Linked DNA regions of Homo sapiens: all the other regions are linked to region 1. Evidence: promoter capture Hi-C in 16 types of primary human blood cells and fetal thymus (Javierre and others, 2016). All regions are on one chromosome and are shown on one strand. The core of a region is centred on a gene start or on the middle of the fragment in contact, and the rest is flanking DNA. Distances in the headings are between cores, read along the strand shown. Region 1 holds the start of ARL14EP (ARF like GTPase 14 effector protein). Region 2 overlaps DCDC1 (doublecortin domain containing 1). Region 3 overlaps DCDC1 (doublecortin domain containing 1). Region 4 overlaps DCDC1 (doublecortin domain containing 1). Region 5 overlaps LOC107984419 (a long non-coding RNA gene).

Region 1 (2,973 bases), core at 229-2,728:
GTGTGTACCATTGGCCCAAAGCACTTTCCACCTGTGGGCCTCCTTGCTGACACCTCACCTCTGGTCCTCGTAAGTATACCACCAGCGGAGAAGGCTGTTGTGGCAGATAGGATATATGAACATTACTTAACCCATGATTCAGGTGATGGCGTCCTTCCACTTGCTTGCACCTTATCCTAAGTGTGTCCACTTACCACAACTCTTTCACCTTTTCACTGGATACTTAAATTGAATAGGCTATATTATTTAATAATCTTAATTTGATCTGTGAGCCTTCTCTGTTTCATTACCTTTAGGATAGCTTGCCTAGTTTACTAGGAAGTCACAATTGCATCAAATTAAGTTCCATGCAGGCATTAATCTCCTCCCAGAACGCTCCTGCTTTAGCCCCTATCATTTTATCCTGTTTATATCCATGTGTTTCTGTTATGACACTTTTCACACCACACTGTGATTAACTGTTTATTCCTCTCTCACTAGTCTGTGAGCTCCTTGGAAGCAGAAATAAATTTTGTTTTTGTCTAATCATTGCTTAACAAAGTGCCAACCACAAAGTAAACAGTAAAAGAATTACAGAATGCAACCTCCTGCAGACACAGTTGAAGAAACTATTCATTGTTTTTTCCTTTCTGTCATTCCCTAGTTCTAGGCATCAAATCGCTTGCCTAGTCGGCGAGCAGTATGAAAGTGGTGGGAGGACCATAGACGCACTGCAGAAAACAGCTTACAGTAGATGCAGAGAATTACTAGCACGCTTGGGCCTTGGTGGGGCTTGTCTTATTTACCTGTTCCTCATTTTTCACTGGGAGTTTAAAACAAGTTTTTGTTTCCCTGCTATCCCGACCTTAAGATAATTAAAAGGCCAAGAATCTTTAAGAGACTTTCAGTTCTCCTGGATTCTAGATAATAAAACCCACTTTAAAAATTAATGAGCACCTATACTGTGACAGACAATAAGGATACAATAAAAATACCATTTCTGTTCTGAGAAAATTTACAAGCATCTTCCTGGAGCCTACATTTTACTCGAAGTAATAGCTATTTTTATAGCTTACAATAAAAGATGCATTTTGGAATATATTTCGCTTGAATTAAAGAAATAGAATGTGAGACCTTAAACAAAGGGTCCGTTCTTCAGATCCTTTTAACTCACACTCTCCTTCAGGGGTCGGGGTATTTGGGTGCAAAAGTTTACTATCACGCACAGGTGTAGAGATGTACAAATACGATCCAATTTAGTGGAAACTGTGTCTTGTAAGAGATGGCCCCCAGGGACCTCCCACATCCCTAACCTCTCGGAGGACTGCAAAAGACAGCATCTGAAGCACCTCTTGCCTCGCCTTGAATCATTTGCCACTTCACACCGCCCCGCCCCTTCCGTCCCCGGAGGCGGCCAGCCTCGTGTCCGCTCTAGGCTTCTCCCGGACGTCTCTTTGTGGTGGCGTTGAGCTCCTCTAGCCCGCGCTTGCCGTCCTCTCAGTGGTAGCGCGGGGACTGGCTGGGAAGCGGTCGGTCGAGTGTGGCCTGTGTGGACTCGCATCTTGCCCGAAGCCGGGCGGAGGAGAGCTCAAGCTAAGGTGGAAGGGGAACGGGGGAGGCCCTGGAGAGGAGTGGGAGAGTGGAGACAGGCCCCTGGGTGGCGAGGGAGCCCGGCGGCGTAACGGGGGAACCCGGGGAGAGGTGGAAGAGGAGGCCCGCACACGTGAGGGGGATTTCCAGCTGCTGGCCGGGGCCTCTCACCCCTACCCCCGCGTAGTTCATCTGCGACGCAACGCCTTGTGTCAAAGCCCAGCACAGGTTCTGCCGCCTCTGACCTCTCTGAGGGTCGTCGCCTGTCCTGTAGGCCCAGGACCTTCAAAGCTACGATTTTGACGTGAACTACTTAGGGTTATTGTGGCCTTGAACTCCGTAGACAGCCTTTATCTCTGCTATTTTTGTTTTTAATTTTTCAAATCAGAATCCTTTCAACCCTGGCCGTTTGAGGCCAAAGGCTAATGTTTATTTTTCCATCCCGGTACCATGAACTTAGTAGGTGCCCACTGGACGGATCTGGTGGTTTTAGTCATTTGTAAATAGCCGTGAACTAAGGAAGAAATGTATGTGGCCTCTTACAGGGTTGGGTTGGGAATCATTGCAGGGTTTGGGGGCACTCTGTTAGGCATGATAACAACAGCTCTAGGCTTGAGTTTCTTCATCTGTAAATGAGAATGATAGTACTTTCCTCAGGGTGGCTATGAAGGTTCCTGAAATGATGTTTGCCCTAAGCACTGTACCTGGCATGTCCTGACTACCACACTTGAACCAAATCTTTTCAATGGTGTTATGGACTATATTTTTGTTTTAAATTGCCTTTACCTTTCTTATTGTACCTAGATCTTCCTGAGGATTGAGACTCTCCTCTTTGCCTTTGGGCCAATTGTCATGTTATAGGTAATCAGTATTTGAAGATGACAGGCACAAAAAGTTCACAGTTGCAGGATGCGTGACTTTTGTAGGCGTATGTACCCATAACTAAAGCTCCTGATTTGGGGAGTAGGGGTAGATTAAATTATATTTTTATTAAATAAGAGATAATCTGGGAAGACGCTGTGTAAGTTGTAAGACCCTATGCCAAGAAAAGCCTTTAATTTTTTTCATAAAACATTTCATGAAAACTTTTTTTATGTTTTTCATAAAAGAGACATCAGTTGACCTAAAAACGAAGTAAATTTTTTGTTTTGTTAAATTTCCTCTAAATGTTACTTTTCCCACTAATAAGGAGACTGGTAACAAACTAAAAAACTATGTTAAGGGAAATTAACATATTGGAACGGGTATTTCTGCATCTCCCCTACAAATTTAGGAAGAAAAAGTGAGTTCCCTAATTAATCCTCAATTCCCTCTGCTGTTGTTTTGTTAGTGGCTGTTTTGCTGTTTTGTTAGTGGTGGGGGGGGTGTTCTGCATTAACACCCCGAAACCCCTGTGATAATGTC
Region 2 (2,973 bases), core at 124-2,623, 620 kb after region 1:
AAAGCATCTAATCATGAGGCACAAATTTGTGAGATGAGTGCATAAATACCATTAATTGCATTTAATTAGGAGAAAAGCAGTATAAATAAGTGTTTAAAAATCAGATGAGCAGAATGATTTCAGTTTAAATGTTTTTTCCTTTATATTTTTACTAGAATATCTTGCTTGGTAAACATGTTAACAACAGCGACAAACAATAAGGGTGACTTAACACAATTCTAAATAAGAAAAATTTGAACTACAGAAGCTTCATTTTATTCCTAAACCTCACTGAGAAACTTTCACCAGTACAGAAATAATATTGCAGAGGGTAGATGATCAAGTGTTTATTTAGATAAGTGTCTGCTATCTATGAATGGAGCAACATGGGGCTGTTTTTTCTTATTATGGTTACTGAGAATAAATTATCAAAGGTTATGACAACTTCATTGTATATTTTTATTTGAAATTGGCCTGTTGTATAAAGGGAAGTAGTGGGATGGAGTCACATAACTTCAATAAGTATGTTTGGGATTTGTCTGTAACTATTCTATAGCGGAGATATTGAACAATTTAGTTGATGGAGAAAATCAACTTTTATACTAGTTTCAGTCATAAAAGATCATGAAGCAAGGGTTGGGTAGGTGAGAGAGATGGTGAGGGAATCTCATTAGAAAATTACTGTTGCATTGAAGTCTTGGTGTAAAATAGCTAATATATCTCTTTCTTTCTGAACCATGGCAGGGAAAGGCAAAAGAAACAAGATTCTCCTTCATGCTTTGTCTGTGATACATGTCGATTCATAGATTCAGGGTGTGTAACTGTTCTTTTCAATATCCCAAGTATGCTATATTTCTGATGAACATATCTGAAGTGTGCTGTCTTAGCTCCTAGCTATTTCTACATTTTCTCACTTCCAACTTGTCCCATGGCAAATGGTAGCATCTGCAGACATTGGCTTTGGCACTACTGAAGCACTGCTGTCTTTGGATGGCTTCTTTTACTTTCCAGTTAGACGAAGGAAGCCCAAGAGTCTTCTCTTTTTAATGTGAGACATCACAGAAACCCAATTAAATGAGATTAAAACGTTAACTTGGGTTTCAAAACTTTACAAATGTTAACTACTACTGTCGGTTCTTCCTTTAAGCTGCTTTAATTCTCGTTCTGGTGTTTCAGGCACTTTCATTCTGTCCTTCATAGACATAGAGAAATAAGGCGTTGGGATAATGAAGGACAACAAAAAGTACAGATATGTAATTAAACTGACTGGAGTGCTGGTTCTTCTCCCTCCATTTTCTCAGTTGGAATTCTTATGTTCCCATGCATGTCTTTATTGGTTTTCTCTGTGTTCACACTGCTCTATGTCACAGCTCCACAGTCGGGAGACCCTAGATGAGCTGTGGTGCTCCCTTAAATTGATCATTCTTCTTTTTTTTTTTATCTCTCTCTCATAAGAGAGAGAGCATGTGTTCGTTTTGGGAGTCCAGCTCTTAACCAGCAATCTAAGTTTCATAGCTATATTAGTCCTCTTTTATCTATTTGCTATTAACAATATAATATATTCTTCAATGTTCTCTCCTGAGCCTTCCCACGTCTCCTTTTCCCCCCTCTTTATTCTGGTAGCTACTTATTATCATCTCTCAATAGAGTAATAAACTTTTAGCTTTGTTCTGTCTGGCATGGCCCGTCCAAATGGATATATTTTAATTTAGATACTTTAAAATAACTATCCAACAGCTCATTCCAAAATCGTACATCTTTTTAATCTTACTTTTTACCACAATTCCTTCCTTGAATATGAAAATCCATTGCTCCTTACCTTTAAGTGTTTAGAAGCACAATTTTTCAATTCACAACTTTTCCCCCATAGAGTGAGAAAATAACTTGAGTTCCTCTAATTTTTTCCAGTGAACTTAGTCACAAAAGAAACCAAAAGAATTTATTAATGTTGGTTTTCAATAAGGCTTTACCATATTTAAAAAATACTGATATCCCTAGATATATTAAATGCTGTTTGTTCATAAAAATATTATCAATTGCCTTTTAGTATGAATAATATTTAAAAGTGAGGACAGCATGAAATCAGTTCTCAAAGCAGCTGTCACCACTGAGAGGTACATAGTTTTTAGTATTAATGCAGTCTGAGACATTACCAAGATAATTCCATATTTCTATATTGTTCATACTTCCTTAGTCATCATTCTATTTTGAAAGTTTCTTGTCAAGGAACTAACAGGAGAATTGGAGTCTCACTCAGGGTGTTGTTTGTTAGATGGTTTTCCTAGATTTAGTATTTTTACTTAATTTTCAGGCCCATTTGGACAATCAGCCCAGCTGATCTTTCTTCACAGTGACTATATGACTAAATAAACTGGCTCAATGCATAGCCTTGATTTCTGGAACACCAAACTTTTTCTGTGAGTTTCTTCTCTCTCCCTTCCTTCTCCTTTATTCATCAACTCTGTCTCCTTCCTTTTCTTGTTTCTTCCTTGTTGACTCATAGCTTATACTTCTTAATCTGTAAGCTTCATGAACTTAGGAACCAAGTCTATCTCCTTCCTTGCTCTGTCTGCATTGCCTAAATATGTAAGACATAATGGTTAGATAAATAGTAAAGTTGGAAACTTAAATCCGGTATAAAATTATTATTTATGCTTATAGTACCCAAAGTATTCTGAATGCCACAATATGAGTGTCACATTTCCTAATCACAGTTTATTTATATGGAAAGCTTTCCAACCAAAATATGAATTGCATTTAACTGTTCACTGAAATAGAGTTTGTTCTGCTAAAAAAAAATCAGTTGCTTGAAAATAGGACTGGAAGAAAATATGGTTCCTTCAAATAAGGTGGATTCAGACTTTAAGTGAAATACACTGTATTTAATTTTAAATTTGAGTTTCCCTGCTTGGTAAGTATTCTCTTCTCTTCCTCAGACATTTCAATAAGTAGGAGGACCCTTAGACTGAGTCATTTTGAAATACATAGTCAACT
Region 3 (2,973 bases), core at 154-2,653, 600 kb after region 1:
GCTGCCTTTTCTGATCATTGCAAAGTCATTATTACAAACATTCGACATTTTGTGTATGAAGACCCAGGGGAAACTTTAAATAATAATAATAATAATTATTATTATTATTTGAGATGGAGTCTCACTCTGTAGCCCAAGCTGGAGTGCAGTGGCATGCTTTCGGCTCACTGCAACCTCTGCCTCCAGGGCTCGTGATTCTCGTGCCTCAGCCTCCTGAGTAGCTGGGATTACAGGCACCTGCCACCATGCCCAGCTAATTTTTTGTATTCTAGTAGAGGCAGGGTTTCGCCACGTTGCTCAGGGTAGTCTTGAACTCTTAAGCTCAGGTGATCCACCCACCTCGGCCTCCCAAAGTGCTGGGATTACAGGTATGAGCCACTGCACCCAGGCAAAAATTTCTTATTTTGAACAACGGATTTCTTTTTCTCTTTTGGACATATTTAATCATGTAACTAACTGTTTATGTTTCCATCTTCATGTTACTCTTCAGAGCAGTGACAGATTAGTTTCTAGCAAATATACAATCACTCCTGGCTCCATCTTATCCTCCTTCCACTCATACCTGCTTTGCCATGGTGGCCTCATCTATACTTACCATTAAATTAACTTTTTGTATTGTATGATTTAATGTAATCTACCTTAAATTCATTCTCTAAAAAACCCACAGTGAATAGCACAGCAGACCAAACAAAAACACTAAAAGCAAACAAACAAAACACTTGGAGAGATGGCATTAGGATTCAAAATGAGATCTAGCAGTCTCTGAGAACAACAGACTCTCCACCCTGCGATTCTGCCTCTGATGTTGGCCATTGATACTTCTGTTTAAGACTCTCTCCAGTATTTAGGTTCAGGGCCTCAGTTGAGTTCTGACGAAATGGTAGAAGCTTTGTTCTCTGTTCAAAGAATTGTAGGCATCAATCAAGGAAGGTATCTTTTTTTTTAATTTTTCAAACCAATGCCTCAAATTCTATAAATGAGGGGGAAGGCTGGGCTGCTAAAGTCCTTCCACTTTTCAGCCTTCTCCAGTCACCAAATAGAGTGTATGAAAAAAGTAGACATAATTTTGTCCTGAAAAAGTGAAATTACCATTTAGTAAAAAACCATTAAACAACTACATTTTGAAGGTCTCAAAAAGAGTAGAGAATTTACCTCCTTCAGAGCAGGAGATAGAAATTACAAAGGATTAACAATTTGGCCTTCTCCAGTTTCTTCCTTAATTTCTAGAGTCTAGGATCATGATGAACATTAAGTAGATTAATTCGGCCGGGCGCGGTGGCCCACACCTGTAATCCCACCACTTTGGGAGGCTGAGGCAGGTGGATCACCTGAGCTCAGGAGTGTGAGACCAGCCTGAGCAACATGTTGAAATCCATCTCTACCGAAAATACAAAAAATCAGCTAGGCATAGTGGCACATGCCTATAATCCCAGCTACTCTGGAGGCTGAGGTGGAAGAATTGCTTGAGCATGGGAGGCAGAGGTTGCAGTGAGCCAAGACTGCGCCACTGCACTCCAGCCTGGGTATCAGAGTGAAACTCCATCTCAAAAAAAAAAAAAAAGTTTAATTTATATACCACTCTGAAAACCATGCCAGACATATAGGAAGCTCTGAATAATGTTAGCTGTTAGTATTACTTTCTGATGTTTGCTCAGTTAGGATAATTCTGAGAGAAAATAAGAATTAAAATGGTAAGCATTTGAAGACTTATATTTAAGGGGATTCTTTCTTGGATGGGGTATTAATAAATTAATATTGCCAGTTTCAAATCCATGTCTTTACCAGTTCATCTCTTTGCAGGTCTTTTAAGGCAAATATTTCCTTCCCCTTTTCATTGTACAATCTCCGAGCTGCAGAAGGTAAATTTAAAATCTCAGTGCACCTGTAATAAAAGACACAAAAATTGACCTTGCATACAGAAAGCTTCCAGCAGCAAAGAGAGAAAATAAAAGAAATCTGGGGCCTGAATCCATAATGACAACTCTCTCTGCAGGACTGTTAGTCATGAGCTGGACTCTGGGGCCCATCAGACCCATTTGAGTCTCATTTTCCTCTCCAAATTGTGGCACTTGGGCAAATTATTTAACCTGTCTAAGGCTAGATTTCTTACCTTCCAGGGTTTCTGTGAAGATTAAAGGTTGATTTTGAAAAGAGCTCTTAGCACAGTCCCAGACATGACCAATAAATAGCTAGACACACTGCTATTGACTTTTAGTTCCTTGGTATGCCCCACACTTTTCTATTTCTGTGCCTGCGTTCTTTCTCCTACCTAAAAAAATTTTTCCTTGGCTTTTTCTGATGTAGTCTTGTTCTTTCTCCAAGGTTGTCAAAGTCTAATTTGTCACCAAGTTCCTCAGCTCCCTCCACCAGAGGGTAGTCTGTTTCAACTACCTTTGAAACAGACGTTTTTAGCCTGGTTAAACACTGAACACTGATTTCCCACTCCCACAACCCCCTGCCTTCCCAAACAAGCACCGGACAAGCCCTGTGGATATTGAGATGATGACAGTTTTGTAGTTCCCTGAGGAGCTCCGAGTCTGGTCAGGGTAGAGAAAGGTGAGCAATTGAAGTGTAATATGAAGTCGTAGGTGCTGCCATAGGCACCTGCCCAGCGTGCTGTGAGAACAGAGGGGAAAACAATTTTTCCAGAGAAGCCTTATCTAAGGGAGTGGCATTTGGGTTGGGTTTTAAAGGATAAACAGGATTTCATCAAAAAGCGCTAGACTGGAGCTGAGTGTATGGACATGAGGAGGGTATGGACCAGATGAAACTGAAAAAGAAAACAGAAACCAACTGAAAGTACTTAGGATTCTAGACTGAGGAACCTGCCTTCTAGCCCATAAGCAGCAGAAAGCCATTGAAGGCATTAGAGCAGATATGTGGTGTTATCAGGTCTGCTTTTCCGAAAGTTAACTGTCAGAAAGGTGGAAAATGGGCTGGAGGTGGGAGAGGCTGGAGCCTAGACAGCAAGCT
Region 4 (2,973 bases), core at 263-2,762, 550 kb after region 1:
ATGCCTCTCCTCCCCAGCACACAGCATGAGCCCCACGGGGACAGGGATCACATCTGTCACATTCACCTCTGCATGCCCAGCACCTAGAACAGTGAGTGCAGTGACTGCCTGAATATATATATATATAAATATATATTTTTCATGTATATATATATTCATGCATATACCATGTATATACAAGCTGGTCTCTCTCTCTCTCTGTCTCTCTCTCTGTCTCTCTCTGTCTCTCTCTCTCTCTCTCTATCTTCTGCATATATATACACACGCACAGTTTTAACATTGGGAAAGCTGTTAGCTGGGCTAGCTTAGAGGGTGGGGTAGTAGAAGATAGAGTAATAAAAATCAAAATCCACAATGGGATTTATCCTATCAAAATGACTACACTAAACAAGAGGCAAGGAAAAATTTAAACTTTTATATTTGTATATAAAAATGTATAAATATATAAAAATGTGTGTGTATATACATATATATATATATATATATAGAGAGAGAGAGAGAGAGAGAGAACAAACTGGTATATACATGAATTAAGTGTTAGAAAAACTAATTTTCTTTGTATTCTCTGTTTTCCAAGGAAAGTGTCTGTCTTCCAAGGAGAGTGTCTGTCTCTCAAGCTATATGGATTTCATTGGTCTGGCAAGAGAACTATCTTGAAAATTCATTTTTCTAAGAGAATTTGTTACCGAACTGAAATAACGTCCTGTGGATTTTCACACTCTTGGGTGAGCCTGCCAGGGATGCAGGTGCTCACACTTCCTTGCTAACTAGACTTAGGGCAAACAGAAAAGAGATGTTCAAGTAGCTCCTTCACAGGAGAAAGAGCAATGATGGAAAATAGAAATCCTCTCCTTGTTCCAAAGCTCTCCTTCTTTGTACATATAAAAATGTATAAGAAAACTCCAGGAAGCTGGTTATTTTCCCCACCCTCAAAAGTACTCCGCTCCCTGATATATGTACCACAGCACTGATATTATTCCTGTGACCTTTAAAATAGCAAGATTTTATCAGCACTGAAGGCAGCTTAATGAACATGGAAAGCTTCAGCACCTCAAACTCACTTGTTTAGCCTTCCAATGTCTGGGTCCTAGTTAAAATCTCTGGGTGGTTATATCTGACTCAAGAACATTTCCATCATTTCTTAAGGGAACTGTGATGAGAAAACATGAGGCTACTTAGACTCAAATACTCACATACAAAGCAAATGTTTCATTGTCTTCATAGCCCCTGAATACAGGCTTTGTTCTTAAAACTGGTACTTACCACTTGGGCCATGCCCTGCTGATAATAAACAGCACTGTCCCTGGCAGGCCTAAAACTCTTGGCAAAGTTTCTTACACTGTGGTCACGACGTGCTTCTTCCCAGGTGCTTGTTAAAATGCAGATTCCTTATACCTTAGGCATAGAGATTATGACCAGTGCTGGGACCAAGCCTGGAAATCTGTATTTTATCTAGCACACCAGGTGTTTCTTGTGCACACTCAAATTTGAGAATCATATTAAGGAAGTATCTCTTGCCAATACACAAATTGTTCCAGGAAACAGTTTTTTCTTTTTAAATGAAAGATGGGATTTAAAGACTCTTAGAGGAGAAAAGCCAGGAAGACGGGAAAAGGCCAAGAGGCAGGGAGGAAGAGGGAGGAGGGAAGAGGGAGAAAAAGTAATGGAAATGAGAACAGAGATATAATCAGATTTTAGATTTTTAGAGGCACTAACCTAGGAGCCCTGGGAAGTTCCCTCCTCTCCTCCACCTCTCTCCAGCATAGTCACTGAGTAAAGGACAGTGCCCTTCAGGAAATTTCCTTTAAAACACAGCTTCCAGTGGTGGCACCAGAGATGACCACCGAACTGCCTCAGCTGGTCTCACACAGCTGACATTCCTGAGCATGTGCACCTGAGCTAAAACCCTAATATCAGTTTCCTACATTGAAATTACTGCTCTAGGACTGGCAAGCTAGGACCTGATAGGTCCAACAGCTCGACTGAAGCTTGTATCTGCCTGCAAGCCCACAGAGGGATACCACAGACAATGAGCAATAGCACATCCAATTCAGAATCACCATTTTACTTGCCATAGATATAGAATTTCTCGTCTCCTTTCTTCCTCTCTCCTTCAACCCAGTTGCACTATGGGCATATGTATTTCCTCTCTCATATATTTCTATTTATACATTTGGTACAGGGTGACAGCCTTGATAGTAGTTTCATATTCCAGACTCGTAGAATTAGAAAATGTTATAGCTGCCAGCAGGCACCCACTGAATACCTACGGTTACACGGTCAGTCCATTTATTTTCATCAGCTTTCTCCTGAGTGGTCTTTGTTGATCTTGCTTTGTAGTTGCTTATGGCCACACAGCCCCAAACCATGCCATTTATGCAGAATTCTAATTTACTGTGTCGAGAACAAAACTGTTACTCTTTCATTCTACTTACCTAGCCTCGTAGAGGGGACACGGGGTTGAGATATTTTCAAAGCCAGGAGGGAACCAGAACCAGCGGTTCAATAGAAACAACTGAGAGTCACCACTGAGTCTAAATTTCCCATAACTGGGGACATTTGCATCTGATTTTGTGATGTACTAGAATAACGCAGATTTGTGTGTTTTGATCATTCGCTTCCAAATGACGCAGATTTGTGTGTTTTGATCATTCGCTTCCAAATGATGCAAAAAAAAAAAATGCTGCCATGGTGAATCACAAATCTCTCAATGGCACTCAGCACACCTGGGCTATTATTGAAGGTTAGCTCACAAATGCTTCAACAGCCACGAGCCACAATTTCTAAGTGAGTCTCTGACAAAAGAGAATATATTTATATTTATCCTTCTGCTGTCATTTGTTTGATTGTTGCTTTGTTTTCTTAATTAGGGAAACAATATTTAATTATGATAAACAATCAAGGAAAAAAACAGAGATTTAGGGTTATTGCCCTTCAAAGCTACCTTTGCATTTTGAATCATTACTAATATAT
Region 5 (2,973 bases), core at 271-2,770, 530 kb after region 1:
TTCTGAGCCCAGTAGCCTCAACTCTGAGTACAACAAGGAAAAGTGGAAATTTATAGTCAAGAAGCAGAGTTGTGGGGGGTAGAGAGGCTCAGTGTGAAAACTGGTAAGAGGAAACATTAGGGATAAGAGGGCGATAGCAGCTAAAGCAACCTAATGGGGTTCTTGCTGAAGGCAGGCCAGGGTGACATCACCTGAGGGATGGTGGAGCATGAAGAACCTGATTAGATATTAAAGGTGATCAAAGATGGAGGATAGCTGAACTGACTTAGCAGTGTTCTTTTTTTTTTTTTTTTGAGACAGAGCCTCGCTCTGTCACCCAGGCTGGAGTGCAGTGGCGTGACCTTGGCTCACTGCAAGCTCTGCCTCCCGGGTTCACGCCATTATCCTGCCTCAGCCTCCCGAGTAGCTGGGACTACAGGTGCCCGCCATTGAGCCTGGCTAATTTTTTTGTATTTTTAGTAGAGACGGGGTTTTACCGTGTTAGCCAGGATGGTCTCGATCTCCTGACCTTGTGATCCGCCCTCCTCGGCGTCCCAAAGTGCTGGGATTACAGGCGTGAGCCACCGTGCTCGGCCAGCAGTGTTCTTGCTAGAGCTAGACAATGCCAAGATGAACACAGAAGTCCAAAAGTAGAGGACTAGTTGAAAAAAAGAGTTCAGAAGAGCCTGAGTAGAGTTTGGTCAAGGAGAAACCTATGTCATTTAACAGGCACAGCTCTGCTCCCACTGGAGGAGGGATTCTTCTGGAAGCCTTCCTTTCCTCATCCAAACTGCTTCCATTTCCTTAGCCCAGAAATGCTGAATGCTGGAAGAGGGCTGCCATGGTTTGAATGTTTGTCTCCTTCAAAACTCATGTTGACATTTTAATTGTTATCATAACAGTACTGGGGGCTGAGGGCCATGAGGGCTCCACCTCCATGGTGGGATTGGTACTGTTAGGAAGGGTGCCTTTAGCCTCCTCTTGCTCCGTCTCTCACCCTCTCGCCTTCTGCCATGTGATGATGCGGCCAGAAGACACTTGTTAGGTGCCATCACCTTGATACTCAACTTTTCAGCTTCCAGAACTGTGAGCCAATAAATTTCTGTTCATTATAAATTACCCAGTCTGTGGTATTCTGTGATAGTAGCACAAAACAGACTAAAACAAGGTCTTTATTGTGATTCTAAATCTGGCCTAAATGATATCACGTAGTCTGTTAATTTTTTATATAGATGCCCTTTGTGTCACATTTTCTGCTGGCTTATGTGTCTTTTAATCACACCTCACAGCAACAGGAGCTACTTGACAGGGTGCCACGGTACCAACTTTTTCATCCTTGGATGCAATTTCAGAACGGTATTCCATCAAAAGGAGCAGCAGGATTCTATTAGAACATCTCTTATCTAATACAGAAACACAGTTCTGTCACCACCAAATTTTCCAGTTCACAAATGCTAAGAGTTTCAATACTATTACAACCACATAGTTCAACGGGATTTAAAACCTATTTTTAAAACAGTAGACTGGATTCATCTTTAATACATAGACCGAGTTTTCCATGTGTTCATATGCCACCTAGTGGGCTATATTACATACAAAATGTAAAACTGATCTTTTGAATTATAATCTAGCATTTTCTTCCTAAAATTTGAGGTCCAAGTGACAAATCTTAGCCAGTAAAATCTCTAAATTTAAAAGGTAACGTTACATATTCAGCACAGAGTCAGTTTGAAAGAGACCAAAATTTGGAATTCCTTTTAAACATTTCATCTGCGGCGATTTAAAACAAGAAAATATCTCCATCAAAGGGTTTAGGTTTGAGTTACCATTGACAGTAGTGGAAAGACAAACTGGTGAAAAATAAAAGTAGCCTATTTTATCTAAGGGGGTTAAGGTGTGGAGCAAATAGAAAAACAAGACTTCACAATTCAAAGTAGCTGACAATTTTAAAGATACATGATGTTTCACAACCTCTTGAAGGATTAGGCATTTTTAAGGCACCTCTATGTTAGGTTAAAGCTGATGTTCAAAAAGTAGTTATTGACTGTTTACCATGTGCTGAGCACTAAGCTAGGGACCGAGATAAAAGAATGGGCAAAACTAAAGAGAACTCTTGCCCTAAAGAAGCAGAGATCTGCTACTTCAGAACACTCTGGATTTTGCCACTGAATTTTACAGTTAGTATTATGACACCGTTTTACACATGTTTTCATTGACGTAATCCTAACAGAATTAATTATGCTGTTACTAAAGGGCAGAGTGAACTCAGTTATGGTGATTACTGACTTTCCAGAGTTCTAGGACTGTTAGGAGAGCTGTAGCAGCTATGGAAGTAAACTGTTTTTTTTTTCTTTTTCTTTTCTTTTTGAGATGGGGTTTCACTCTGTTGCCCAAGCTGGTCTCGAACTCCTGGGCTCAAGTGATGTTTTTGCCTGGGCCTCCCAAAGTGCTGGGATTACAGGAGTGAGCCACCACACCCATCCCTGAGGAAGCAAACTTGTTGAAGCAGTTTGGTCTTCTCACTGACTGAAGATGAGAGAAATCTTATCAGCTTGCTATCATGTGATTTTGGGAGAATTCTTCATACTTGCCTGGGGTTAGCTTGAGAATTGATCATCTTCCATGGAGTGCTTGAATCATTTCCCATAAGGCCCAGAAACGGAGCAATGAAAAGAGCTTAAGATAATGAAAAGGGCCAATGTCCACGAAGTTGGAAATTCAGTGTATACCATAATTCACAGACTTCTCCAGTATTAAATGAGTAAAGAAGGGGAGAAGCTAGGGGACTGCACTGAACTTCCTGCTGTTCTATTGTTTTGGTTAAAGCAGTAATTGCCCTCAACTCTTTTTTGGCTTCCCAAGCCACTCTCCAAAAAGCACCATCAAAATTTCCAAAGCAACCAAGAAGTCTAAAGAGCAACCTGATGCTTTGAGTAAAACACATGGAGTTAATCATGGAAGTTTAGGTGCAATGCTTCCTACTCTTCCACAACC

Evidence for each region. The method cuts DNA at HindIII sites, captures the fragments that hold promoters and counts their contacts. A CHiCAGO score of 5 or more calls a contact.
Region 2: a contact is called between a fragment that was not itself captured here and the fragment with the promoter of ARL14EP in region 1, in 4 of 17 cell types (M0 macrophages, M1 macrophages, M2 macrophages and 1 more). The highest score is 7.9, in M0 macrophages.
Region 3: a fragment that was not itself captured here is called in contact with the fragment with the promoter of ARL14EP in region 1 in 7 of 17 cell types (monocytes, M0 macrophages, M2 macrophages and 4 more); the score reaches 17.0 in monocytes.
Region 4: a contact is called between a fragment that was not itself captured here and the fragment with the promoter of ARL14EP in region 1, in 1 of 17 cell types (endothelial precursors). The highest score is 6.8, in endothelial precursors.
Region 5: a fragment that was not itself captured here is called in contact with the fragment with the promoter of ARL14EP in region 1 in 2 of 17 cell types (megakaryocytes and endothelial precursors); the score reaches 8.4 in megakaryocytes.

What each region holds. Positions count from the first base shown.
Region 1 is chr11:30,321,626-30,324,598 of GRCh38, forward strand. It overlaps ARL14EP (ARF like GTPase 14 effector protein), which reads left to right and starts at 1,479. Exons shown (of 4, transcript NM_152316.3): 1 at 1,479-1,577. ARL14EP-DT (ARL14EP divergent transcript) reads right to left here and starts at 1,321. Exons shown (of 2, transcript NR_187437.1): 1 at 1,293-1,321. RefSeq lists enhancers at 1,141-1,746, 1,259-1,508 and a silencer at 1,579-1,708. The HindIII fragment of the contact is 9,349 bases long and covers 1-2,973 here.
Region 2 is chr11:30,941,784-30,944,756 of GRCh38, forward strand. All of the region lies in intron 21 of DCDC1 (doublecortin domain containing 1), which reads right to left. Among named protein-coding and RNA genes, the nearest start is that of LINC02859, 210 kb to the left of the region's middle. The HindIII fragment of the contact is 2,257 bases long and covers 246-2,502 here.
Region 3 is chr11:30,923,527-30,926,499 of GRCh38, forward strand. It overlaps DCDC1 (doublecortin domain containing 1), which reads right to left. Exons shown (of 39, transcript NM_001387274.1): 23 at 1,783-1,882. Among named protein-coding and RNA genes, the nearest start is that of LINC02859, 190 kb to the left of the region's middle. The HindIII fragment of the contact is 1,036 bases long and covers 886-1,921 here.
Region 4 is chr11:30,872,879-30,875,851 of GRCh38, forward strand. All of the region lies in intron 38 of DCDC1 (doublecortin domain containing 1), which reads right to left. The region is part of intron 1 of LOC124902656 (a long non-coding RNA gene); the gene reads left to right. Among named protein-coding and RNA genes, the nearest start is that of LINC02859, 140 kb to the left of the region's middle. The HindIII fragment of the contact is 947 bases long and covers 1,040-1,986 here.
Region 5 is chr11:30,854,036-30,857,008 of GRCh38, forward strand. All of the region lies in intron 3 of LOC107984419 (a long non-coding RNA gene), which reads right to left. Among named protein-coding and RNA genes, the nearest start is that of LINC02859, 120 kb to the left of the region's middle. The HindIII fragment of the contact is 3,945 bases long and covers 1-2,973 here.